Linked DNA regions of Homo sapiens: region 2 is linked to region 1. The links are contacts of gene promoters, found by promoter capture Hi-C in blood cells and fetal thymus (Javierre and others, 2016). All regions are on one chromosome and are shown on one strand. The core of a region is centred on a gene start or on the middle of the fragment in contact, and the rest is flanking DNA. Distances in the headings are between cores, read along the strand shown. Region 1 holds the start of CYP24A1 (cytochrome P450 family 24 subfamily A member 1). Region 2 has its middle 91 kb from the start of ZFP64.

Evidence for each region. Contacts are between HindIII fragments. The CHiCAGO score rates a contact against its expected background, and 5 or more counts as called.
Region 2: a contact is called between a fragment that was not itself captured here and the fragment with the promoter of CYP24A1 in region 1, in 1 of 17 cell types (naive CD4 T cells). The highest score is 5.9, in naive CD4 T cells.

Annotation. Positions count from the first base shown.
Region 1 is chr20:54,171,441-54,177,615 of GRCh38, reverse strand. It overlaps CYP24A1 (cytochrome P450 family 24 subfamily A member 1), which reads left to right and starts at 3,630. Exons shown (of 12, transcript NM_000782.5): 1 at 3,630-4,294; 2 at 4,517-4,707; 3 at 5,946-6,039. The coding sequence starts at 4,037. RefSeq lists an enhancer at 3,407-4,000. The HindIII fragment of the contact is 2,450 bases long and covers 2,363-4,812 here.
Region 2 is chr20:52,097,756-52,104,087 of GRCh38, reverse strand. It overlaps a transcript of ZFP64 not described here. Among named protein-coding and RNA genes, the nearest start is that of ZFP64, 91 kb to the left of the region's middle. The HindIII fragment of the contact is 8,792 bases long and covers 246-6,332 here.

The DNA.
Region 1 (6,175 bases), core at 2,381-4,880:
TTTGCTGGGCACTTTACTGTGGTAGGAATTTTATTTGCAGTGTTCTCACAGGAGCCCCGTGAAATTGGCTATTGTTACTACTCCTGTTTCCATGAAGCTTGAACTTTACCGTGAGGTTGGAACCAACACTGTCCATTTAACAAATGCGGCAAGTAAGTCCTCCAGGTTTCCGCAACGGAAAGTGGATCTAGTACTCACGCCCCAGTTTAGGCAAAGTTTGTTGTGTTTGTTTTTTTGAGATGGAGTCTTGCTCTGTCGCCCAGGATGGAGTGCAGTGGCATGATCTCAGCTCACTGCAACCTTCACCTCCCGGGTTCAAGCAATCCTCCTGCCTTAGCCTCCCGTGTAGCTGGGATTACAGGCATCTGCCACAACATCTGGCTAATTTTTGTATTTTTTAGTAGAGATAGGGTTTCACCATGTTGGCCAGGCTGGTCTTGAACTCCTGACCTCAAGTGATCTGCCTGCCTCACCCTTCCAAATTGCTGGAATTACAGGCGTGAGCCATCATGCCAGGCCTAAGCAGTTTTAAGCACAAAACTATATTACTATTGCATATACTTGAAAGTGTTTTGTATTTTCCAGTGCAGAGAAACCAGCCCTTGAACTCCTACAGGCTCCTCCACCCCACCCTCATTATACATGTGTACACAGGTGTGTGAACTCACACACACATGTTGTCATGGGTGGTCCCTTGGTATGAGGGCTGAAGTCTAATTATCCATTCCAGGACTTGGTAAGATTTCCCAGAGCAAAACAGAGGGCCTGAGCCTGTCTCAGTAATGATGGCAGGCATTTATGAGGCATTTCAAGATCTCTCATTAGTAATTCCTGACAAGATCCCTATCCGGATGACTCATAGAGGCTAAGTAGTGAGTGAAGGATGAGGACAGATGAGGAATAGTGAATTCCTGGAAGCGGGATCAAAAATAGTCATTTTGAATTTAATCATACTTCTCAAGGACAGGTATGTATTGGGGTCAATGAAGTTTCAAAGAACTAGTCTTGCTTTCCTCTGCAATCCGGTCTAAAAATTACTGGGGATTTTCTCCACTGAACATGAGAAACCAATATCCCTGAAACAGGAATTTTCTTTTTAGCTATCATGTAACTAATGATTGCCCATATATTTAAATATCTATTTAGAGTATATAAAGCTATATAGCATGAAACTCTTAGAAAAACCTAGCAAGTCTGAAATTATTTCCTCTTCTCCTTGTGCATATCTGCCAAAAGAGAAGGAAAAGAAAGAATAATTGGGAAAATTACTCAATAGTTGAAATAACAATAGACCATTCACTGTGTCCAAGCACCTCACCAGAATCAAGGTACTCAGTAGTGAAAAACATAGACCTTCTGTTTAGAGCTATTTTTTTTTTTTTTTTTTTGACAGAGTCTTACTCTGTCGCCCAGGCTGGAGTGCAGTGGGGCGATCTCGGCTCACTGTAACCTCCGCCTCCCGAGTTCAAGCGATTCTCCTGCCTCAGCCTCCTGAGTAGCTGGGATTACAGGCATGCACCACCACACCCGGCTAATTTTTGTATTTTTGGTAGAGATGGGCTTTCACCATGTTGGCCAGGCTGGTCTCGAACTCCCAACCTCAGGTGATCCGCCCACCTCGGCCTCCCAAAGTGCTGGGATTACAGGCGTGAGCCACTACACTCAGCCAGAGCTATTCTTTTTCACCACCGTCAGCACATAAAACGTTTGCCTCACACTGCCCCACACATACTGACATGGTAGGCATTCTGATCCCCCCCACTTTCCTCTTGGTGATAATTCTCATTTAAGAAATACTTCCAATATTCTGAGACACTCTGGTTTAAGAAAAAGTGACATAACATAGCATGATGTATATGGGTGTACTATTTAGGGCCCAGCCTAGAATCAGAAAATATTGGGTCTGAATCCCACCTGAGCCAATGGTAACGTCTGTGACATTGGGCAAATTACTTAGCTCTGTAAGAGTCAAGGGTTTTTTTGTTTGTCTTTGATTTTTTTTTGTTTTTTATTTTATTTCATTTTATTGACATTGGGCTGAGATGAGAACTAAACGGAAAAAATGATGTAAAATGTCTAGCTCAGTGCCTGACTTATCATAAGCCCTAGAAAGCTTTCATGAGAATATTATATAACATATGGAATCTACATACTGTATGCAATCTATACTATATTATGTATATTTAGTGTGTATTGCATATAACATAATCTATAGTGTATGCTGTAACATATATACCATACAATGTATATATAAATATGTACAAGATTCATAAAGTTTAGTATATATCAATAGCTATTATTTTTATTAACATAAACAGTCATTAGCCCCTCCAGACAAATCAGAAATGATGGTGTTAAAGCTTAAGTTGGACTGCAAAAGATTTTTAAGAAACAAACTAGAGGCTTACAAAAGAATTTACCAGGGAAGGATTTGCCAACACTTGGGGCAAAAATGACTGAGACACGTAATTGAAAAGCAGGGCGAGGAAACAGAATGTCCCTCCCCTCCTCCCTGGCTGGTGGTAGTTTTGTATTGGATCAGGTTGAAAGGATTCGAGCCACTTTAAAACAATCAACAAAAATCTCCAACTTCCGTTCCTGAATTAGCAAAGCGAGTTCTACTCTTGCCAGCCGCGGTAACTCTAGAAATTGTGTATGTTTGTCACTGGACCTGCCTAGGACGCACCTTGGGGGAGAGGGGGAGTACTGGGGGCGGTGGTTTCAAGCTCTGTGTGCCCCTCCTTTGCACAAGGTAGTCGGTGTAGAAGAACAGAGGCGGGCAGTGGACATAGGGGAGGTGGCCCAGCCTGAATTCAAGCATCGTTGGTGCAAGCCACGCTCTCAAGGCGCATTTCCTAACTTCCTAAAGAAGTAACAACAGCAACTAACTTTTATTGACTGTTGACTATAGACAAGGCTTCGTTGTTGCCGCTTTACGTGCATTAATTCATTTAATCTGCAAAACAACCAAACATGAAACAGCAGGAAGGAAATTCTACAAACTCCCCTTCTTGCTCAAGTTAAGAAAGTCTCCTCTTCTGGTGCATTTCAGTAAGACTCAAATCCTCCCCACCCTGGGAGGCGCAGAAAGCCAAACTTCCTCCAAAAAAAAAAAGGCAAAAAAAAAAAAAAAATCACTTCAGTCCAGGCTGGGGGTATCTGGCTCCCCGGGAGGCGCCCGGGCTCCCCGGGGCCCTGGCAGACGCCGGCAGCTTTTCTGGGCCCGCACTCGGGGACCTCGCCCGCCCGGCATCGCGATTGTGCAAGCGCCGGGCGGCAACCACGGCCGCCGCTGCCGGCTCCTGCCCGCCGGGGGAGGGCGGGGAGGCGCGTTCGAAGCACACCCGGTGAACTCCGGGCTTCGCATGACTTCCTGGGGGTTATCTCCGGGGTGGAGTCTGCCGCCCCCACCCCACCTCCCGCGCCCAGCGAACATAGCCCCGGTCACCCCAGGCCCGGACGCCCTCGCTCACCTCGCTGACTCCATCCTCCTTCCACCCCCCCTCCCCTGGGTCCCGCGTCCCTCGGAGTCTGGCCAGCCGGGGGCCACTCCGCCCTCCTCTGCGTGCTCATTGGCCACCCAGGGCATGCTCTGTCTCCATAAATGCATGGTCCCTGGGCATAGGAACATGGAGAGGGACAGGAGGAAACGCAGCGCCAGCAGCATCTCATCTACCCTCCTTGACACCTCCCCGTGGCTCCAGCCAGACCCTAGAGGTCAGCCTTGCGGACCAACAGGAGGACTCCCAGCTTTCCCTTTTCAAGAGGTCCCCAGACACCGGCCACCCTCTTCCAGCCCCTGCGGCCAGTGCAAGGAGGCACCAATGCTCTGAGGCTGTCGCGTGGTGCAGCGTCGAGCATCCTCGCCGAGGTCCTTTCTGCTGCCTGTCCCGCCTCACCCCGCTCCATCACACCAGCTGGCCCTCTTTGCTTCCTTTTCCCAGAATCGTTAAGCCCCGACTCCCACTAGCACCTCGTACCAACCTCGCCCCACCCCATCCTCCTGCCTTCCCGCGCTCCGGTGTCCCCCGCTGCCATGAGCTCCCCCATCAGCAAGAGCCGCTCGCTTGCCGCCTTCCTGCAGCAGCTGCGCAGTCCGAGGCAGCCCCCGAGACTGGTGACATCTACGGCGTACACGTCCCCTCAGCCGCGAGAGGTGCCAGTCTGCCCGCTGACAGCTGGTGGCGAGACTCAGAACGCGGCCGCCCTGCCGGGCCCCACCAGCTGGCCACTGCTGGGCAGCCTGCTGCAGATTCTCTGGAAAGGGGGTCTCAAGAAACAGCACGACACCCTGGTAAACCCCTTTTCGCGCCCCTGACTCTCTCCTCCCTCTTCCGCCCTCCCAGTGGCGCTCCAAACCCTCCCCGACATGCGCGCCTCGGGCGCATGGTGCGCTTCGGCGTCTGGGCAGGGAGGGTCCCCGGTCCCCTAGGAGGAAGGAGGCGGGAGGAGGGAAAGCGCTTCGGGCACGGCGGAGGATGCGCGCTGACACCGCGCTGTGCCCGGCCGGCTGCAGGTGGAGTACCACAAGAAGTATGGCAAGATTTTCCGCATGAAGTTGGGTTCCTTTGAGTCGGTGCACCTGGGCTCGCCATGCCTGCTGGAAGCGCTGTACCGCACCGAGAGCGCGTACCCGCAGCGGCTGGAGATCAAACCGTGGAAGGCCTATCGCGACTACCGCAAAGAAGGCTACGGGCTGCTGATCCTGTGAGTCCAATCCGAGGGACCTGGGCATGCGGCCAGACCTGATGAGCCTGACGGCGCCTGGAAATTGTGAAGAGGCGGAGTTAGAGTTCCCTGGGGTTGGAAGCTTCTTACGTAGGGCGGATACCAAAGCCCCTCTCCCGTGCCATCGCAACCCTGAGCTCTTGTACAGATTAGAGTCGGTCCACGGAAAAGCCGTGCTGTGCACCCAGCACCTGCGTTCTCTCTGGCAACAGGGCAGGGCCACACCCTCCCATCAAAGAAACGCCAAAACAGGGTTGTACCAACTGTGGTGTTCAGACTCTTGGGCAGGATGAGGTTCTGAAGTCAGCGTACCAGGCAAACATCTTATACAAACAAAATTATCCCTTAAAACTCCCTGAAACACCTTGTAAGCTCAAAAGCGAGGAGTTAGCCTCTTTGGCTTTTTACAGTGACATTTTCTGCAGAGGATTGGGGGACATGCCTTATTTCTACTTGTAAAGGTGGAATAAGGAGGGATATCAAAGTTGTGTTTTAGGTCGACAAATGCTACTATGGGATGTGATTCTTCTGCTTTTTAGTTGTTAGCATTTAACAAGTTAGCACCTTTATTTACCCCCAAACTGTAATGCCTAATCGTTATATTTTCCAGGATATAATGACTGGAATTAAAAACCCTATTAATTCACGGTGCTTCACAGGCTGTATGGTCTGCTATGGGGCAGGTGCCTACAAGTGCACGATCGCAAAAGGCTTTTTATTACTCCAGTGACTCTCTGACTGTATGTTATTATTTGGAGGCGATGGCAAAATTCTAAATCTGAGATATTTTGTAAATATGAAGCCCACACCAATGAGTTGAAAGAAGACAAGATTCTTCCCTCAAACAGATCTGAGTTGCTGGTGATGGGGTGTTCACATGCCCCCTTTTACCGCTAGGAATTGTCCCCAGGCCTCCCAGCCCCACTCCCTGCAAGGACACCTCAAAATCCCTGAACCCAAATTATCTGGACTTCAACTTTTTGGTGCAATCTTTGACTAGGAGGAAAGGTGCTTTTTCATCCTATTGTCAAACTATTGTCAAAAGATGATCACTATTTTATCCCAAATATTCTGATGCTAATATTCTCTGGCTATTTCTTGGCATGATTCTCAGTGTTTGTTTGATTTTATGGTTCCTGAAGTTGCAGCTGGAGTATTTCTGCATCTCCTTCTTTTCTTTTCAGTGTGCTCTAAATGTATTCCTGCTTCTCTCACAGGGAAGGGGAAGACTGGCAGCGGGTCCGGAGTGCCTTTCAAAAGAAACTAATGAAACCAGGGGAAGTGATGAAGCTGGACAACAAAATCAATGAGGTCTGCAGGCTGGGGCCAGCTTTCCTGGGGCTCGTGGGGACATAGGGATATTGGTGGAGCTTCAAGTCACAGCTACAAAGAACAAAGGAAAAAAGAATGCAATTCGGGTGATTCAAAGTGGGGGTCTTCTCTTTCT
Region 2 (6,332 bases), core at 3,392-5,891, 2.1 Mb after region 1:
GCTGAGGAAAGGAGTTGTAACTGGACTTCCTCTTCTCCCCCGCTCTTTCCGGGCGCGGAAAGGAGGATGGGTCCCCTCTCCGGGGCGGCTCACCCCTCCAGAGCCGCGGGCTCTCCAGCTTCCGCATCAACTTCCACCACAGTCGGTCTGGTGGGTTTTGACCACAACTTCCCGAGGTGGTGGTGGAGGGGAGTAGTTTAATGAAGCCTCCACTAAACGAATAGCTTATATGTTAAAATAAAGCTTGCTCGAGTGGAGCTACCATAACCAGGATAGTACAACCACCCTCGTGCCCGAGGCCTGGGATGGAGATAGGCAGGTGAGACTTACAGGATCCCGTCCCCTGGGTCGAGGGGCGGGGCTCTTGCTGATCTCTGCGCCTCGGGGAAGTTGGGGAGGTACTGGGGATGCTGAGTCTTTTGGGGGAGGTGTTTATAGAAGAGAATTGCTGAGTAACCCCAGGCTGGAGTTGAAAGTCTGTGCACTGAGCTACTTTGGATTCCTGCAGCCAGCGCTGCGAGGCGCCTTCTGGAGCCGCACCCAGTGTTTCGGGCATGGGGAGGGTGTCGTGCGTCCTGGAGTACTGAGGTGACTTCTGTGGGAGCAGGACGCAAACTCTGCCGGCCCAGTAGTGTGCCTCAACCCCAGCCACCACTTCGGAGAAAAAACCGTCTTCCAACTGACGTTTTATCCTAGTACCTTTGGTCTGCGACACTGGCAAGGGGGTACATTTTTTACGAAGGTTGGGCCACTCTTAATTTGCAAGTGTCTTTGCAACTCAAGTAGCTTTTGGAGGAAAATAAAATGGAAAGTAATTAGTGGACTTCCTGTCACCACCAGTAAAATGACGAAGGGGCTGGAGGAACCTTACTGAGGGAACATCATCCGTTTCCCCAGGAGTTAAAACCCTCGCCATGCTAACCTGGTTTCTAATAGTCAAATGCGGCCCACCCCCACTTCCAGAGGCAGAGGGTCTCCCCCAGCTGCACCTTTCCCAGGAGAGTGGGCTTCAGGCCTTCTTTGGTTTCCTGGGTGTCTAAACGTAAAAGAAATCGGAGGCCCCTCACACCTCCCCATCAGAGGCTCTATCTGGGTCATCCTTTAACCCACCTCTCTCTCACTTTTCTAGTTTGCGTTGAAAACATGCATCTTTCTCCCCCTGAGAATCTGGTAGAATCTTACGTGTGTATATCAGTGAATAACACTAATAGCATTTATACAGTATTGACTAATACATGAGGTTCTCTTACATATACTAAAGAACTTCATCTAAGCTAATGAGACGGCCATAATACCCATTTCACAGATGTGGAAACTGAGGAACGGGGAAGTTGAGTAGCTTATCCAGTGGGACACAGCTAATGGTAAAACTGGAATTGAAACTTATCAGCTGGTTTCCCAGTCTGTTCCCCAAACCACTGTGTTATACAGTGCCTCACTTAGATTTGTTTTCAGTCTTGCTTGACTTCTGTGGAATTAAAACCCTCAAGAGTTTAATGGTTTTCTCTTCTAGTATGTGAGTTGCTATGTAATGAGGCTTTGTTTGTGTCTGTCCCTGAGGGACATAGGATGGGTTGCAGATCTGGCAAGTGTGGGTTCCAATGAGCTGAAAACTTCCAGTCCTGCAACCTTGAGCATCTGAGCCAGTTTCTTGCTCACAGAGCAAGAGACTCAAAAGTATGGTTCCCAGACCAGCATCGGCATCAACTGGGAACTTGTTAGAAGTGAAAAATCGCAGGCTCCACCCCATACCTACTCAATCAGGAACTCCAAATGGGAGCCCCTGCCACCTGTGTTTTAAGTAGCCTTCTAGGCAATTCTGATACACGCTGACGTCTGAGAACCACTGGCTGTGAGCTGTGCTTCTCAAATTGTAATGTGCTGTGCTCAGGAATCACCTGGGGATCTGGCTAAAGTACAGATTGGTTCTGTAAGTCTGGAGTAGGGCCTGAGACTGCTGCCTTTTTTTTTTTTTTTTTTGGAGATGGAGTTACTCTCACCAGGCTGGAGTGCAGTGGCACGATCTGGGCTCACTGCAACCTCTGCCCCACAGGTTCAAGCGATTCTCCTGCCTCAGTCTCCTGAGTAGCTGGGATTACAGGCACATGCCACCACACCTGGCTAATTTTTTTTTTTTTTTTTTTTTTGGTATTTTTAGTAGAGACAGGTTTCACTGTGTTAGCCAGGATGGGACGCCTGCCTCAGCCTCCCAAAATGCTAGGATTACAGGCATGAGCCACGGCACCCGGCTGAGACTCTGCATTTTTAACAAGCTCTCAGGTGATGCTGGTGCTCTAGGGACCACCCTTTGAGTAGCAAGGACTTACAAGTAATACAGCAGAATCATCTGGCAAGTGCTTCAAAAATGCAAGGCCCTGAGGTCAGGTGTGGTGGCTCATGCCTGTAATCCCAGCACTTTTGAGTGGTTAAGGTGGGCAGATTGCTCGAGCTCAGGAGTTTGAGACCAGCATGGGCAACATGGCAAAACCCTGTCTCTATAAAAACAAAACTACAAAAAATACAAAACTACAAAAAAATACAAAAATACAAAAACTAGGCATGTGGTGGTGCATGCCTGTGGTCCCAGCTATTCGGGAGGCTGAGGTAGGAGGATGGCTTGAGCCTGGAAGGCGGAGTTTGCAGTGAGCCATGTTGGTGCCACTGCACTCCAGCCTGGGTGACAGCGAGACCTTGTCTCAAAAAAAAATCGCAAGTCCCTGGAATCGCAAGTCCTTACTTGATCCACACTACCACCCCTCCTCCTGCCCCTAAGTTTTCAGTGAGTATAGGGTAAGGCCTGGGAAACTACACTGAACCCATGATCTAGGTGATTGTGACACAGATAGTATCAGGATTACACTTGGAAGAAACATTGGGAGTAGGACTACTGCAGACTTTCTCAACCCCAGCCCTATTGACCTTTGGGGCTGCATCGTTTCCTTGTGGGGGCTGTCCTATGCCCTATAGGATGTCTAGCAGCATCCCTGGCCTTCACCCACTAGATGCCATTCTCAAACATGCATGCAAACAGAATCATGACAATTGAAAATGTTCCCAGGCATTGCTGAGTGTCCTTTGGTGGTAGAATGGCCCCCAGTTGAGAGCCACTGGACTAGATCACTTGTTAAGGGGCTTCGAGCACAACTGCTAGGATGTGAAATCTGTAGTCCTCACTTGCGACATCTGAAGCCACGCAATTGTATTTACTCAGATGACACTGTACTGAGAACTTATATATTTTTTCATCTTGTTTAACTCTGCAACTCTGAGGCATGTAATCTCCTTTTGCAAACGAGTAAACTGAAGCTCAGAAAGGTTAAGTAGCTTGCCAATAGTTGCACAGCACATAGCTGAGCAAACCCTCTGCCTAAAACTGAAGCCCTCACCACTGTGCTCTACAGCCTCTCATGCTAAGATTCCTTCACCCGCACAAACTTCTCAATAAAAGTGATAATCCACCTTTTGTAATAACCTTAGGACAGAGAAAGTCCCAGACCTTGGCCTATAATTCATAAGCTAGTCAATCTTCTAAGACTTTAGATGGCTGTACACAGTGGCTCGTGGCTATAGTCCCAGCACTTTGGGAGGCTGAGATGGGCGGATCACTTGAGGTCAGGAGTTCAAGACCAACTTGGCCAACATGGTGAAACCCTGTCTCTACTAAAAATACAAAAATTAGGCAGGCGTGGTGGCGCACGTCTGTAATCCCAGCTACCTGGGAGTCTGAGGCAGGAGAATCGCTTGAACCCAGGAGGCAGAGGTTGCAGTGAGCTGAGATGGTACCACTGCACTCCAGTCTGGGCGACAGAGTGAGACTCTGTTTCAAAAAAAAAAACTTTGGGAGGCCGAGGTGGGTGGATCACAAGGTCAGGAGATCGAGACCATCCTGGCTAACACAGTGGAACCCCATCTCTACTGAAAATACAAAAAATTAGCCGGGCATGGTGGTGGGTGCCTGTAGTCCCCGTTGGGAGACTGAAGCAGGAGAATGGCGTGAACCCGGGAGGCGGAATTTGCAGTGAGCCAAGATCACACCACTGCAATCCAGCCTGGGTGACAGAGCGAGACTCCGTCTCAAAAAAAGAAAAAACTTCAGACCTTGATGGGACCTTTTTTCCTTTTAGATTTAAGTCTATTTTGAGATATTTCAGAATCTTCTAGTACTTAATCTTTGCTGTAGGAATCTTAAAACCTACATATTAGATTGAAACATGAAATTATTTGACCGTTTTGGCTAACAAAAATAGCGATTTCACCTAGTTCAACCTTCCTAAAAATAGACTATAGTGAATTCTCATCCATTGATCCACTTCAACCATTAATTGCATGTGGTCAATCTCATTTCTCCTTATGCCAGCTCTCTCCCTGCCCTGGATTATTTTTGAAGACAAATTCACATATCATACAACTTGTAAATGTTTCAACATTCATCCTTAGACTATGGGGAATGCTCTTTAAACTCTAATTCCATTTTCACACCAAAGTATAAAACCCCTGTAGCAAACTTGCAGTGAGTGAGCACACTTCTTACCATCTCAGCTTTTCCAGCATATTCTAATCAGGAGCCAAGTAAAGTCCCGATATTGTCGACCACCTCAAGTCTCTCAGTCTTTGCTTTTTCTCCTCTTCCATCTTTCTTCTTTCAAGTTATTTGTTGAAACAACTGTTTTATCCTGGAGATCAGTGATGTGTGGTCTGTGACCTTTTGCTGAACTGAGGCAAAACAAATCAGAAATCCAGAGTAAGCATCTTAAAAAAAAAAAAAAAAGTTTGACATTGCCATGGCATCCAGCTTTTTGCTGTATCTAATGATTGGGCTCTTTTTATCTTATTCCACCTCTCCCCTAATTCTTGTTTATCATATTTTACAGAAATATCAGCCTGGGATGGATTAGAAATTGTTAGAAAAAACTAGGTCTTCATGCCATTTAAGAAGTACTCATATGTTTTTTAGTTTAGATTTTGCCAGTTTCCCTGTTATGTGACAGTGTCCTGTCCCCTGTACTTCTTGGAAACCGTAGTAAGGGGAAGAGGACTTTTGCAAGACAGAGCATACATGGCTTGCTTTTTTTTTTTTTTTTTGGTAAAGACAGAGTCTTGCTCTGTTGCCCAGGCTGGAGTGCAGTGGCATGATCTCGGCTCACTGCAACCTCTGCCTCCCAGGTTCCAGCGATTCTCCTGCCTCAGCCTCCCGAGTAGCTGGGACTACAGGCACATACCACCATGCCTGGCTGATTCTTGTATTTTTAGTAGAGACAGGGTTTCACCATATTGGCCAGGCTGGTCTCGAACTCCTGAACTCGTGCTCCACCAACCTCAGCCTCCCAAAGTGCTGGGATTACAGGCATGAGCCACCCCGCCTGGTCACATGGCTTTCATTTTTTTTAAATTTTTTCTGGAAAGGTGAAGGGAGGTGAAATAAGCCCAAACCTACTGTATTCTAAGACTTAGCATGGTGGTTATAAATGAGAAACTAAGCAAAACTATGCCTCAATTTCAGCTTCAGAACTTGATGATGATGTTCCAAAAGCAAACTGCCTCTCCACTGAAAGCACTGACACTCCGAAGGCCCCTGTCATCACTCTTCCCTCAGAGGCAAGGGAACAAATGGCCACCCTTGGAGAGAGGACGTTCAACTGTTGCTACCCAGGTAAGAGTAAAACCCTGCGTGCTGAGCCGCTTCTGAGCCAAGCACTGATCTGCAAGCCCTACGTGAATCTCTGAGCTGCCTGCTCATGTTACTCTTGTTTGCTGACAACATGCCAGTATCTACATCAGCACACAACAGCCTTCCCTGGGGGGCCTAAGAGGCCTGTAGCATCCAGAGCTCAGCGTGGGACTCACCAGAACATTGGATTCATAGTAGCTTCCACCCTGAGGTTATACATATATGGACTCTTTTTTTTTTTTTTTTTGGAGACAGTTTCACTCTTGTTGCCCAGGCTGGAGTGCAATGGTGTGATCTCGGCTCACTGCAACCTCCGCCTCTCAGGTTCTAGCAATTCTCCTGCCTCAGCATCCCAAGACAAGGTCTTGCTCTGTTAAGGCTGGAGTATAGTGGTGTGATCATAACTCACTGCAGCCTCCAACTCACTGGGTGCATGTGATCTTCCCTCATCCGCCCCCTGAGTAGTTGGGACTACAGGCATGCACCACCATGTCTGGCTAATTTTTTTTTTTAAATAGGGGGCGGGGGTCTCTACGTTACCCAGGCTGGTCTCAAACTTCTGGCCTCCAGTGATCCTCCCACCTTGGTCTCCCAAGCTCGGGGATGGCAGGTGTGGGCCACCACACTCAACTGAGGTTCTTCTAAGAATTGTATTCTTCAGGCC